Regions from separate parts of the Homo sapiens genome. Here region 2 is linked to region 1. The links are contacts of gene promoters, found by promoter capture Hi-C in human tissues and cell types (Jung and others, 2019). All regions are on one chromosome and are shown on one strand. Each heading gives the region's core, a stretch centred on a gene start or on the middle of the fragment in contact. The rest is flanking DNA. Distances are from core to core; before and after follow the strand shown.

Region 1 (6,078 bases), core at 1,275-3,774:
AATATCTCATCAATAATCTTTAATCACATGTTGAATATTTTGAATGTATTAGAGATTACATTAGAATTAATTTCACCTGTTCCTTTATATTTTACTGCGGCTACTAGAAAATGTAAAATGACATACATGGCTGGCATTATACTTCTATTGGACAGCAATGATCCAATAGATCCCAGGACAGCTGAAAGAGGAAATGAGACCAGAAGCAGGAAGAACAATTAAAAAGACTCTGATAAGCATCCAGGTAAGAGAGACAGGCCTGATTATCTAAATTCTGCCCATCTTCAAAACCTAATTCAAGATACACTACTGCCTCCAAAAGCTCTCCTAATCCTAACAATTCCCAAGGAGTTACCTTTCTCTGAACTCCTGAGGCACTTATCTGTAGCATTCACTTCAACACTCATTCATTTGCCACCTGTCATTTCTATTTAATTTTGGGGTAATTTGTTTCTCAGATTAGACCAGAAGCTCCTAGGCTAAGGGCCATAATTTAGGCACCTTTAATTTTTGCATGCTGTGTAATGCATTTTTGATACTTTTAATAAACACAGGTACATGACTCCCCAAAAATCTGGATACACCTTCATGGGTGACTTTACCTTTCCACAGCAGAAGGAACTGAGAATCTCTTTTCCTTCAAGAACCTTAAAGATAGGAGCTAAAATGATGTAAAAATCAATCAAAACTCCCTCCAAGCCAATGTTCCGATAAAGTAGTGATATTTAATCAGTGAGCAAGCATTAGTAGACTGTATAGGATACCATCAAGAAAAAAAAATGCCAAGACAGAAGAATTTAGGCTTTTGACAAATTCCATAAAAAGTCAAACAAAAAATTTCTGATCATCTCTGATCTCTACCGCCAGAGATAACCTTTGCCAACCTAAGCATTAAGAACTTTCAATCAAGGAAAAAACATCTATTTTAAAAATTAACCCCTAAATCAATCCTTCTAATAAATATCACATTTTCTAGGTAGGGATACACATATTACCAGTAAATTTACAACTCAGCATTTTCCCATCTAAATTAGAGTAAGGTGAAGAAAAAAAACTTTCCAGGGAAATATTAAGAAGTAGTATAAATGTATTTTACTGCATAATCGATAAAGTATTTCACCTAAAATACCATTTAAATTTTCTACAACACTTGACTATACAACGGCCAGCTTGCACCACTACAGAAATAGGAAGCTAGCAGCAACTAGTAAAAAGCAAGGGACATTCTGTGGTGATCAGTACTGACCTGGGAACTTTGCAGTTTTCAGATTTTTCATGTTTGACATTTAAAACAGAAAACTGACAAGTTTCTAATAAGAAACTAAAAGTTACATCAGAATTGATCTTCTTGCATGTGTTTAATGGCTACGAAGTGGATATTACAAAGTGCAGTTGAAGACTCTATCTCCAAAGAAACAATCGAGCAATCAAAGATGAGCTAGGATAGCTTGTAAGGGAACAGAAGGCAGTCCTTTCTATTCTGAAAGGCAGAAGAAATAGGAGAAACCTGTCAAACAACCTGGATGAAATCAAGGAGTTAACAAGCAACACTCATTTCCTTTAGCACTGTGAGAAAATTCCGGTTGCTAATAGAAAGCTGAGGAAAGTTTGGTTTGGCTTGTTTCATTTTGTTTTCCTTCCAAATCATCACTGAGTATGAACGACTGCTTTCCTCTCCTCACATTACTCAGTAAAAACTCCCCCATTGAATTGTCTTCCGGTGCCCTGCTCCCCAGCCTCCCAGAACGGCCCCCGCCCCCGCCTCCCTCCCAGCAAACGTGCTCAGACGCCTCTGGGCTTGTTGTGGTCTCGCCAGTCTGCGGACAAGCGCTCCAAACTCAATGGACAATGGAGCTCACCCCCGTCAACGCGAACTACAAAGCTCAGGAGGGCCATTTCCCTTTTCCTGCCCAGATGCTGTTTTCGCTCCTTCGAAGCAAGATCCCATGCTCGACTAGACGGCCAGTGTGCGCCAGGACCCGCGTGTCTCCTTCCCCACCTGCAGAGCTGCTGAGCCCCTCGGCCCCCAAATAAATTGTACCGCAGCACACAGGCCAAAAAGGGCCCCCCACCACCAGGGGCTTGGCTGGGGACAGTGGCTTCACGGTCCAGGTAGGGATGGAGGGAACGTCTCTTGACGCTTGGTCATGGCCCTCAAGACTAAGCCGTCTCCACTGTTCCCCCTCCCCAGCTCCAACTTGCCTCCCCTCCCCCCACTGCGAGAAGACCTAGGAGGTGCGGGCAGGCAGCACCGCCACCTCTTCCTCCGGTGGAGCGCTCGGCCGACACTCACCCTTTCACCACAAAGAAGGGGTCCTCCATGGACATGGCGTCCCGGCCCCGGCCGCCTTCACCTCCTCCGCGCACAGGGCGCCCGTGCCTCCCGGTCTCCCTCCGCCCACCCCGCCTGTTCCCGCAGCTGCCCGCGCCTTAGTCTGGGTGAAGCCGAGCAGCGGGCACGCGCACAGGCCAGGTGCACAGGACGGCCGCTGGTCCAGCACTCGCTCAGCACCACTGGCCGAATCCCGGACTCGGGCGCCGGCCCCCTCGGCAGCCTCCAGTCCCGGCTCCTCCCGAAGCGTCGGAGGGCCTGACCCCACCCCCGGGACCCTCGGCCGCGGCCAATCACGAACGCCGCCTGAAACACGACTTCCGCACCCCGCTCACGTGACCAGGGCATATATCTCTCTCTCTCTCTCTCTCTCCTCTCTCTCCTCTCTCTCCTCTCTCTCCTCTCTCTCCTCTCTCTCCTCTCTCTCCTCTCTCTCTCTCTCTCTCTCTCTCTCTCTCTCTCTCTCTCCCCCCCCCCCCAGTGGGCGGGGCTTACGCCTGCGTCCCTCGGCCCTGGAGGCGGAGCCCTCGGGGCGGTGGAGGTGGGCGGGCTTCTACAGCCCTCTCCTCAAGCTTGAGGGTGAGGAGTGGCTTGTTCCCTCAGAACTAGGCAGTCGGCTTTTCAGGATAAGCTGTAGTTGTACCTGATTTGCAAAATCCTCTTACCTTTCCTCTACTTTTAATACTTAATTTTGACAGTATGTAATTTATAAATCTATCTGGTCCTCGACTTAAAATGAAGCATAGTATCTGATTATAATGTTACACAGATCCTTTAAGTAGGTCTTGCTTTGTGTTGGACAGTGTGCTAAAGGTTGTGTATGCATCATCTCAGTATCCTTTGGGGGAAAGTATTATTCCCCCCTCCCCCTTTTTGGGGGGCAGGGTCTCTCTCTGTCACCCTGGCTGGAGTGTAGTGGCACAATCACAGCTCACTGCACCCTTGACCTCCTGGGCTCAAGCGATCCTCCGGCCTCAGCCTCCCGAGTAGCTGGGACTACAGGTGAGCGCCACCACGCCCGGCTAATTTTTAAATTTTTTATAGAGATGGGGCTCTCAGTATATTTCCTAGGCTGGCCTTGAACACCTGAGCTCACATGATCCTCCTGCCTCTGCCTCCCAAAGTGGTGGGATTATGGGCGTGAGCCACCACACCATCCATTTTTCTCATTTTGTAGATAAGAAAATAAGTTCAGAGAGGCTTGAAGACTTCCTGTAGTCACACAGCCTGGACAGGGCAGAACTGCAGATTCTGTGCACTTTCCACCAGATGGGGTGTACTTTCTGTTGCTGTACATTCTGCAAATAACCATGTAAAGTAATTTTTCATACAGCATATGGTGCTTCCCAGGAGAGCACACCTTCGAGGAATAAAGAAGGGGCCAGGTATGACAACTTCCTCTCACTGTGGTTCAAGAGCTATTCGAGAAAACATTTTGCCCAGAACCATTAACCAACTCATATGCTAGATATGCTATGAAATTTGTGGATGGGGATTGTGGACTTTGATTGCTGAAAATCATTGAGCACTTACTGTGTGTGTGTGTCAGGCAGGATGTTAAGTGTTATCTCAGTTGCTCTTACAATGTGATAATTACTGCTATCATGCCCATTTTATAAATGAGAAATCTGAGACTCGGAGGTTAAGTGACTTGCCCAAGGTCACCAGTCTGGAGCTGGCACAGTCCTTGGAGCAACACAAACCCCGTTTAAACCTTGGCTCTATCATTCAGTTCCTCATCTATAAAACATAAATAATAATAGCTAGTTCATGGGTTGTTGTGATGGTTAAATAAAAATGTGTGTAAACCTCAAGATCCCAAAGGACTAAGTTACTGAAGTCAGGAAAACCAGTAAGGACGCTGCTAAAGTCATGTGGCCTGAAGGGATGAGGTCCAGACCAGGATGACAGCGATTGAGAACAGAGAAGGAGTGAATCTGACAGATGTTTCAAAAGGAAAACAAGACTAAACACCTAGACATGATGAGGGGCTGAATGGGTTTCAGGAGGGGAGAGAAGAGAGGGGTGAAAGCCAAAATCCCTGGAGGAGCGAATGATGGAAGGCAGATGTGGGGAAAGGAAGCAGTGTCCAATACTAGTGATTGCTAATGTTTATTGGGAGAGAACTGTTTAATTTACTTAGCTGGGGAGGTGAAAACGTGTCATCGTTCATTCATTCAACAAGCACATGTAAATTGAGGGGTAGGTGAGCATGGTGTTGAAGACCATCCTTGGAGTCTGATTGCTTGAGTTCTGCTGCTTCCTGACTGTTGCATCTCAGGCAAGCCGCTTCATCTCTCACTATCCTCAACTGTGAAATAGACACCGTAATAACAGCTTCCTTATAGAGTGTCATGAGGTGATGTGTGAAAAGTGCTTAAAACAGTGCCTGACACATGTTGTGCTCCTACTGTGTGCTAAGCACTGAGACACAGGCATGAACAAGGCTTGGTTCTTGCCTTCAAGGAACTGTCAGACTGGTGGGAGAGACAGACTGGTGGGAGAGACACACAGTGAGAGAAGGGCACAGGTTGCCATAGAAACACAGCGACAAGATACCAGTATATTTGTGTGTTTTCGGGGCTGGGGCAGGGGGTTCCTAAGCAGTGACTAGAAGCAGCCAGGAGAAGGGGGCCATGTTGCTGGAGTAGAAGGAAAAGGATGGGGGCAGCAGGAGCTAAGCCTGGAGGTGGACAGGGTCAGATTATCAGGGCCCTTGTTTGTAATGTTCAGAATAGTGGACGCTTCCTATGGACAGTTCCCCATGGGGACTGAGGGAATTGACAGGGTCAGATTGGCATTTGAGACAGATGCTTCAGTGGCTAGGAGGTTATGGTCCAGAGGAGGGATGAGGGTATCCTGAGCTGGGCTTGTGACAACTAAGGTGGAGAAGAGTGATGCATTTGAGACATACTTTAGAGGCAAAGTTAGTATACTTGGTGACTGATTGGTTCAGGGTATGGGGGAATTGATGAAAGAAGAGGGAGGAAGGCTTCTGGGGTTGTAAATGGGTAGTGTTGGTTCCAACCATCAAGAAAGAGAACACAAGAGGAGGATTTGATTTAGGGTGAATGTAAATTAGCTGTTAGCATGTCATTTATCCCCACCAAACAGTAAACTCCTGGAGGGACAGGATACTATGTTAATGTTATTATCACCTAAGTGCCTGACACGGCCTCTTATTATCTGTTCCATGAATTTCTTAATTGGACCACATATGACAGGCCAGAGTTTTATAAGTAGTAATAGAAGATAGAGGACAGAGGCTTGGGTTCCCATAATTAGGGGATTAGAAAAAGCACCAACAATGGAGATAGTGGAGTGTCAAGATATAAAATGTGTGTATGTGTGTGTGTGTGTGTAGGTGTTCCTTTCTTTAATGTGTCACCCTCCTTTACCCTCTCTCAAACTAGACCTTGGCCTCCACTGCCCACAAGGAAAGGGAAGCTATGGCTAAAATGCAAGGAGAAACAAAGGAGGTTCTTTCTTTCTTTCTTTTTTTTTTTTTTCATTTAATAGGACCCACGTCCTGGCATAAACAATAGGTTGGGAAGAATACTCAGCAAAAACCCATCTCTTCCCACACCCCCACCCCTACCCCACCCCCAACCCAAAAGAATAATTTAAATTTCTCAGGGAATAAAAAATCAAAACAGTGGTTGTCTTGGGGGACAGAGTTTGACTGGGAAGGGAAACTTTCTTGGGTACTAGAAATGCTCTGTATCTTGACGGAGTGTGTGTTACAT
Region 2 (6,078 bases), core at 1,263-3,762, 170 kb before region 1:
GTCAACCACAGTCTGAAAACTTTATGCTATTTTGAGAGAGAAAGAGACCACAGTCACATAACTCTTATGGTTTTCGTTTTGTTTTTTGAGACAGGGTCTCACTCTGTCACCCAGGCAGGAGTGCAATGGTGTAATCTCAGCTCACTGCAGCCTTGACCTCTTGGGCTCATGCAGCCCTCTCACCTCAGCCTCCTGAGTAGCTAGGACTACAGGTGTGCGCCACCACACTGGTTTAATTTTGTTTATTTTTTGTAAAGGTGAGGTCTCCAACTCCTGGACTGAAGCAATCCTCTCACTTCGGCCTCCCAAAATGTTGGGATTACAGGCGTGAGCCACCACGTCCAGCCTTCCACATAACTTATTACAGTATATTATGATTGTTCTGCTTTATTATTATTGCTAGTCTCTTGCTGTGCTTAATTTATAGATTAAACTTTATCATAGCAGTACTATCCATGGTTTCAGGCACCAACTGGGGGTTTTGGAATGTATCCCCCACAGATTGCAATGGTGCAATCTCAGCTTACTGCAGCCTCCACCCGTTGGGTTCAAGCACTTCTCATGCCTCAGCCTCCCAAGTAGCTGGAATTACAGGCGCACACCAAGCCCAGTTAATTTTTGTATTTTTAGGAGAGACGGGTATTCGCCACGTTAGCCAAGCTGGTCTTGAACTCCTGACCTCAAGTTTTCCACCCGCCTCGGCCTCCCAAATTACTGGGATTATAGGCATGAGCCACTGCCACTGCGCCTGGCTTCTTTTCATTTTTTAAATTCAACCTATTTTCTTTCTTGTTCAGGTTAGGAAATTTCTATTCTATCTTTCAGTTGCCAGTTCTTTCCTCTGTCCCTTCTATTATTCTGTTAACAGTGAGTTTTATTTCAGTTATTGTATTTTTGGCTTCTAATATTTCTATTTGGTTCTTCTTTGTGTTTCCTGTATCTTTGGTGAGACTGTTTCTTTGCTAAGGCATTTTTATCATAGCTGCTGTGAGATCTTTGTCCAGTAATTCCAACATCTCTATCATCTCAGTTTTGACATCTTTGATTGTCTTTTCATTAAGTTTGAGATCTTCCTTGTTCTTTGTATGACTAGTGATTTTTTTAATTGAAAACTGGACAGTTTGGGTATTTTGTTATTAGACTATAGACACACACACACACACACACACACACACACACACACACACACCCTACCTCTTAATTATCCTTTGGATTGAGAACATTTCCTGCTTTTGCATGGTATTGCTAGCTGCTAACTGAGAGCTTTGGCAGCCTTACCTTCTGTGGCACAAATAATAGTGCATTCATGTGGTTTTTTTTTTTTTTTTTTTGTATTTTGTTGTATTTTGTTCGTTTTTCTTGAAATCAGTGGGAATTATCTGTGGTGATATTACACACAATTTTTTTAATGTCTCATAAGTGTAATACAGTTAAAACAGCTATAGGAATCATTAGGCATGCAGAAAGCAGCAACTTTTAAACATCATTGTGACACTCATTGAATTAAAAGCAGCTGTGTTTTGTTGTAAAGGAAAAAAATGATGTCTACAAAATGTTAGAACAATGCCGTTAAAGGTTGTATCTAAAAGGCAAGGAAAGTTTAATAGGGGTTTTGCTTTATCTATTTTTAGCTCTCAGGAACTTATCCTCATATAAGTCTGTTGCTTAACTTTTTCACATTCAACTTATTAACAAAAGACCATGAGATTGGCAGAGGAAGCAAAAGGAAAGCTTTATTTCCTGTAAAGGATTACAATCTGCAGGTCAGGAAACTAAGCTTCCAGCCAAAACCAAATACATAGGCTTCAGTTACAAAGGGGAGAGGTTGGAATTTATCCCCAGTGGGGTTAGCTCCGCATACATATTTAGCAGGTTATAGGAGAATTTATGAATATTTATGAGGGAAACCAAATGTGTGGTGAGTAAACATATATGTTACATATGTCCCATGTTCACTTCGGAGTAGGCAGTTAACATTAAAGTGAAGTGAAATTCGGCTCTTTGTGTCAAAAGGTGAAACACAGAGCAGAGCACAGAGGCATCTTGTGCTCAGTCTCTGTGGACCAGCCAGAACGAGTCTGTGATCAGCAGTCATTTATCAAAAAGGAATGCTTTGTAAGGCTAGTCACCTATCGTGGCAAAAGCACGATAAGGGAGGGGAGTTTGGCCACAGTGTCAGATGGTCTGTTGAGGTTGGGGAAGAAATCTTGCACACATTGTTTTTAGGGACTGGTTTCTGTTTAATTATAGGAAAGAAAGTCTTGGCGGCTGATAATGAGATAAGGGAATGTGGAGGTGTGACTGACCTCCTGCCTTTGTCAAAGCCTTAGAATCTGGTTTTAAAGTTTTCTGTTTGCCACAGCTGTCCATTTCATTTTGCCTGGAGGGCCTAGGAGCTACAAACTTAATAGGTGTTTTCAGGGACACATTATATGTGTAGGCTGCCCAGAGACTATGTTGCCTTTCCCAAGTATTTGTTGGAAGGTAAAGCATTGTGCAGAAAATACAAAAATGAGTGAAACATAGCCTCAATTCAGTTTGGCAAATATTAATTAAGCCCCTACTATGTCCAGCATGGTACATGGGCCCTAGAAAAATGCTGATGTGAGATCTTTCTGTGAAAGACATTACAATTTAATGGAAAAGACAAATATATATTCAATTTGCTCTACTCTAAAGTTAAATTCTTTTCACAATGCTAGATAGAATACAATATTACAGGAAAGAAAAAAATTGTGTATATACAGAATGAAAGACAGTATAAGCACAAGCAAAATGTTTTGTGAAAAGAATGTCATAGGAAGGAGAGATTAACTTTTTTCTAAACTTTAATGTATTTTGTCCTTTGTTAACATATTATTAAATTTTTTATCTCAAAAATGTTAACTTGAAAAGGGGTTTTTACAGCTGGGCACAGTGGCTCACACCTGTAATCCCAGCACTTTGGGAGGCCCAGGAGGGCAGATTATGAGGTCAGGAGATCGAGACCAGCCTGGCCAACATGGTGAAACCTCGTCTCTACTAAAAATACAAAAATTAGCCGGGTGTGGTGGTGTGTGCCTGTAGTCCCAGCTATTTGGGAGGCTGAGGCAGAAGAATCACTTAACCCAGGAGGTAGAGGTTGCAATGAGCCGAGATCATGCCACTGCTCTCCAGCCTGGCGACAGAGTGAGACTGTGTCTCAAAAAAAAAAAAAAAGTGGGGGGAGGGGGGACGGTTTTACTATAACTTTCATTGCTTTTCTCAGCTCCTAACTCAGCCTTTTCCTCTTTATTCTTACAGACCACCTTGTCTCCTACTAGCTTAAGAAAATTGAGGCTATCAGGAATCATTTTCCTTCAGCTACCTTCTCCCTACATGCTTATTTAATCTAAACCCCTTTTTACTGTATTTTCCCCAGTCTAAAGTAACAAGGTGTCCTTCCTCCTGTGCACTGCTCTCATTTCCCCTTGTCCCAGGATCTAGCTCTGGCAGTTGTCCCTTGTTTTTCCCAAATCTTCAAACTGTTTGTCATTACTGGCTCCTTCCTTCTAGCCTATGTACATGCTTAAGAGTCCCCTACTCTAAAAAGATTTCCCTTACCTCATTAAGCCATCTGGTCTAGTCTTTTTTCCTTTTCTCTATCCTGCATCTCAAAACAGTAATCTATCTATTCTTATTCTTACTGTCTCCATTCCTATAACCACAATAACTCTATAGTAATTAACACATATTTAGAAACCTTGAAATGTAAACAAACATAGAATTAGAATTTAAATTTTTTAAGAGATAAAGAGAAGCTCTGTAACATTTCAGAGAGTTCTCATCTCTTTGAGTCTTTGGTATTAAAAAAAAAAACTGGAAATAAACTCAACCAAGTGTAGTCAAACACAGTGTGATTCCCCTTATAGATGGAAGACTTATCTCTCATTGTAGCCTGTCCTTTTCATAGAAAGAGCTTCTAAATTATTTTGATGGTTGCAACCACTGTCTGTGTGACTCCCCAGTCTGTATCTGAAGCTTTTTAGTTTTTTCCAGTTGTTTTCTGGGCTTCCTCCACCTCGATGTTTCGTAAGTACCTTAAAGTCAACACGTCAAAAAATAAACTCATTTTTTTTCCTAAGCATGCTTCAAGCCCCATGTTCTCTAACCTAGTTTATGGCACCATGCCACTCACCCAGGTTAAAAACTAGGAGTTATTTTTGACTGTATCCTTCATCTCACCTTCAAAATTTACCAAGTCCTGCCAATTTTAGTTCCCAAGTATTTCTTAATTTTTGCCTTACCTCTCTGTTCCTTAAACTTATACTCAATTCTAGTCCTCATTGTTTCTCACTGGGCTGTTGCCACAGCCATATTAATACACTGCTTTCAATCTTTACACCTCAAACTCATCTCCCCAAAGATACCTAGAGCTGCACTGTTGCATAATTTAACTACCAGCTACATCAGTCTGTTGAGCATTTGAAGTGTGCCTAATCTAAATCGAAATGTGCCGTAAGTATAACATACAAACTGGATCTTGAAGACTTAGTTTGAAACAAAAAACTGTGAAGGATATCAATTTTATTTTGACTATATATTAAATGTAAAAGTGATAACATTTTAGGTATAGATTACATAAAATATATTATTAATTTTACCTGTTTCCACCTTTTTGAATATGGTTACTAGAAATTTTATTATTACATATACTCTTTCTCCACCTTCACATGAAAATGTGGCTGGTTCCTTGTCAGTACCCAAGTCCCAACTTAAGAAACCTTCTCTGCCTGAACGCTGTTTCTGCCTGAATACTGTCTGAAGGAATTTTGTCTTATCATCCTGTTCTGTTTTCTTCATGGTATTTTTCACTGTGTGAAATCATCATCTTTACTTATATATCTGATCATTGTCTACCCCTACGAAATAGGAGGCTTTACTGAGGCAGGAAATTTGTCTGACCATTAGTAAATAAGATTCACTGTTGTGTACCTGGTACCTAGAATAATATCTGGCATGTGCAGGTACTCTTTATTGAATGAATGGTTTCTATTCTGCTTGAAATGGTTCTCTCTGCCCCATAAACTTGTTTAACTCAAGTCCTTTCATGATTCAGCTCAAGTAGTACCTCCTTCAGGAAGATTTTCCTGGCTATTTCCCCTCCTGGCTTATTGATTCCTTTTCTATGCACAGTTCCAGAACTGTACCTATACATTGTGTTTTTGACTAAATTCTCTCTCCTCTTTTAGACTTGGCCCTTAGTAGTTCTTCAGTATATTCTCATTCCCTAGAATGTACCTAGTTAGGTTACCCAGTAGACATTCAGTATTTGTTTGCTGAATATACAAGCAAGCAGATGTTTTTTTGGAGTTAGTCTTTAGTATTCTAGTTATACAATAAATAATGCAGGTTATAGTATATACTCAGTAGTAAACAGTTCTTGAATTAGTAAAGGAATTCCTATGTACTATTTTTATTATAAAAACAATATAGTGGCCGGGTGTGGTGGCTCACACCTGTAATCCCAGCACTTTGATAGGCCGAGGCAGGCAGATCACCTGAGGTTGGGAGTTTGAGACCAGCCTGGCCAACATGGAGAAACCCTGTCTCTACTAAAAATACAAAATTAGCCGGGCGTGGTGGCGCATGCCTGCAGTCCCAGCTACTCAGGAAGCTGAGGCAGGAGAATCGCTTGAACCAGGAGGTGGAGGTTGCGGTGAGCCTAGATTGCACCATTGCACTCCAGTGTGGGCAACAAGAGTGAAACTCCATCTCAAAACAAAAACAAACAAAAAATATAGCAAAATTAAAGTCTTACTTAAATCATTTGTATAACCACCCTAATAACAATTATTTTCCTCAGCCCACTTTCTTCCTTAATCTTACTTCCCTCATCTGAGATAACCACTTCTGTTTTTTTCCCATAAACATAATTTTATATACAGTATGAAATAAGCAATAATATGTGTAATAACTTTTAAATTCTATTTTCCCACACTATGTTAGAAATTTTGTAATGTTACTTCATGGTTTTATGAAACTACTTTTTTCGTTTTAAAGTTGAGATGGACTTAGAGAAGCAATGCTGTCTAGTACAAAATGTTCCTTAGATGAGGA

Evidence for each region. The method cuts DNA at HindIII sites, captures the fragments that hold promoters and counts their contacts. A contact is called where the count stands out against the background at its distance.
Region 2: a contact is called between a fragment that was not itself captured here and the fragment with the promoter of STX6 in region 1, in 1 of the 25 tissues and cell types used here (neural progenitor cells).

The regions. Positions count from the first base shown.
Region 1 is chr1:181,020,346-181,026,423 of GRCh38, forward strand. STX6 (syntaxin 6) reads right to left here and starts at 2,525. Exons shown (of 8, transcript NM_005819.6): 1 at 2,294-2,525. The coding sequence starts at 2,328. RefSeq lists an enhancer at 2,265-3,048 and silencers at 2,457-2,586, 2,707-2,806. The HindIII fragment of the contact is 9,160 bases long and covers 1-6,078 here.
Region 2 is chr1:180,852,480-180,858,557 of GRCh38, forward strand. The region is part of intron 11 of XPR1 (xenotropic and polytropic retrovirus receptor 1); the gene reads left to right. LOC124904464 (a long non-coding RNA gene) reads right to left here. Exons shown (of 2, transcript XR_007066760.1): 2 at 1-6,078. Among named protein-coding and RNA genes, the nearest start is that of LINC02816, 51 kb to the right of the region's middle. The HindIII fragment of the contact is 5,147 bases long and covers 1-5,086 here.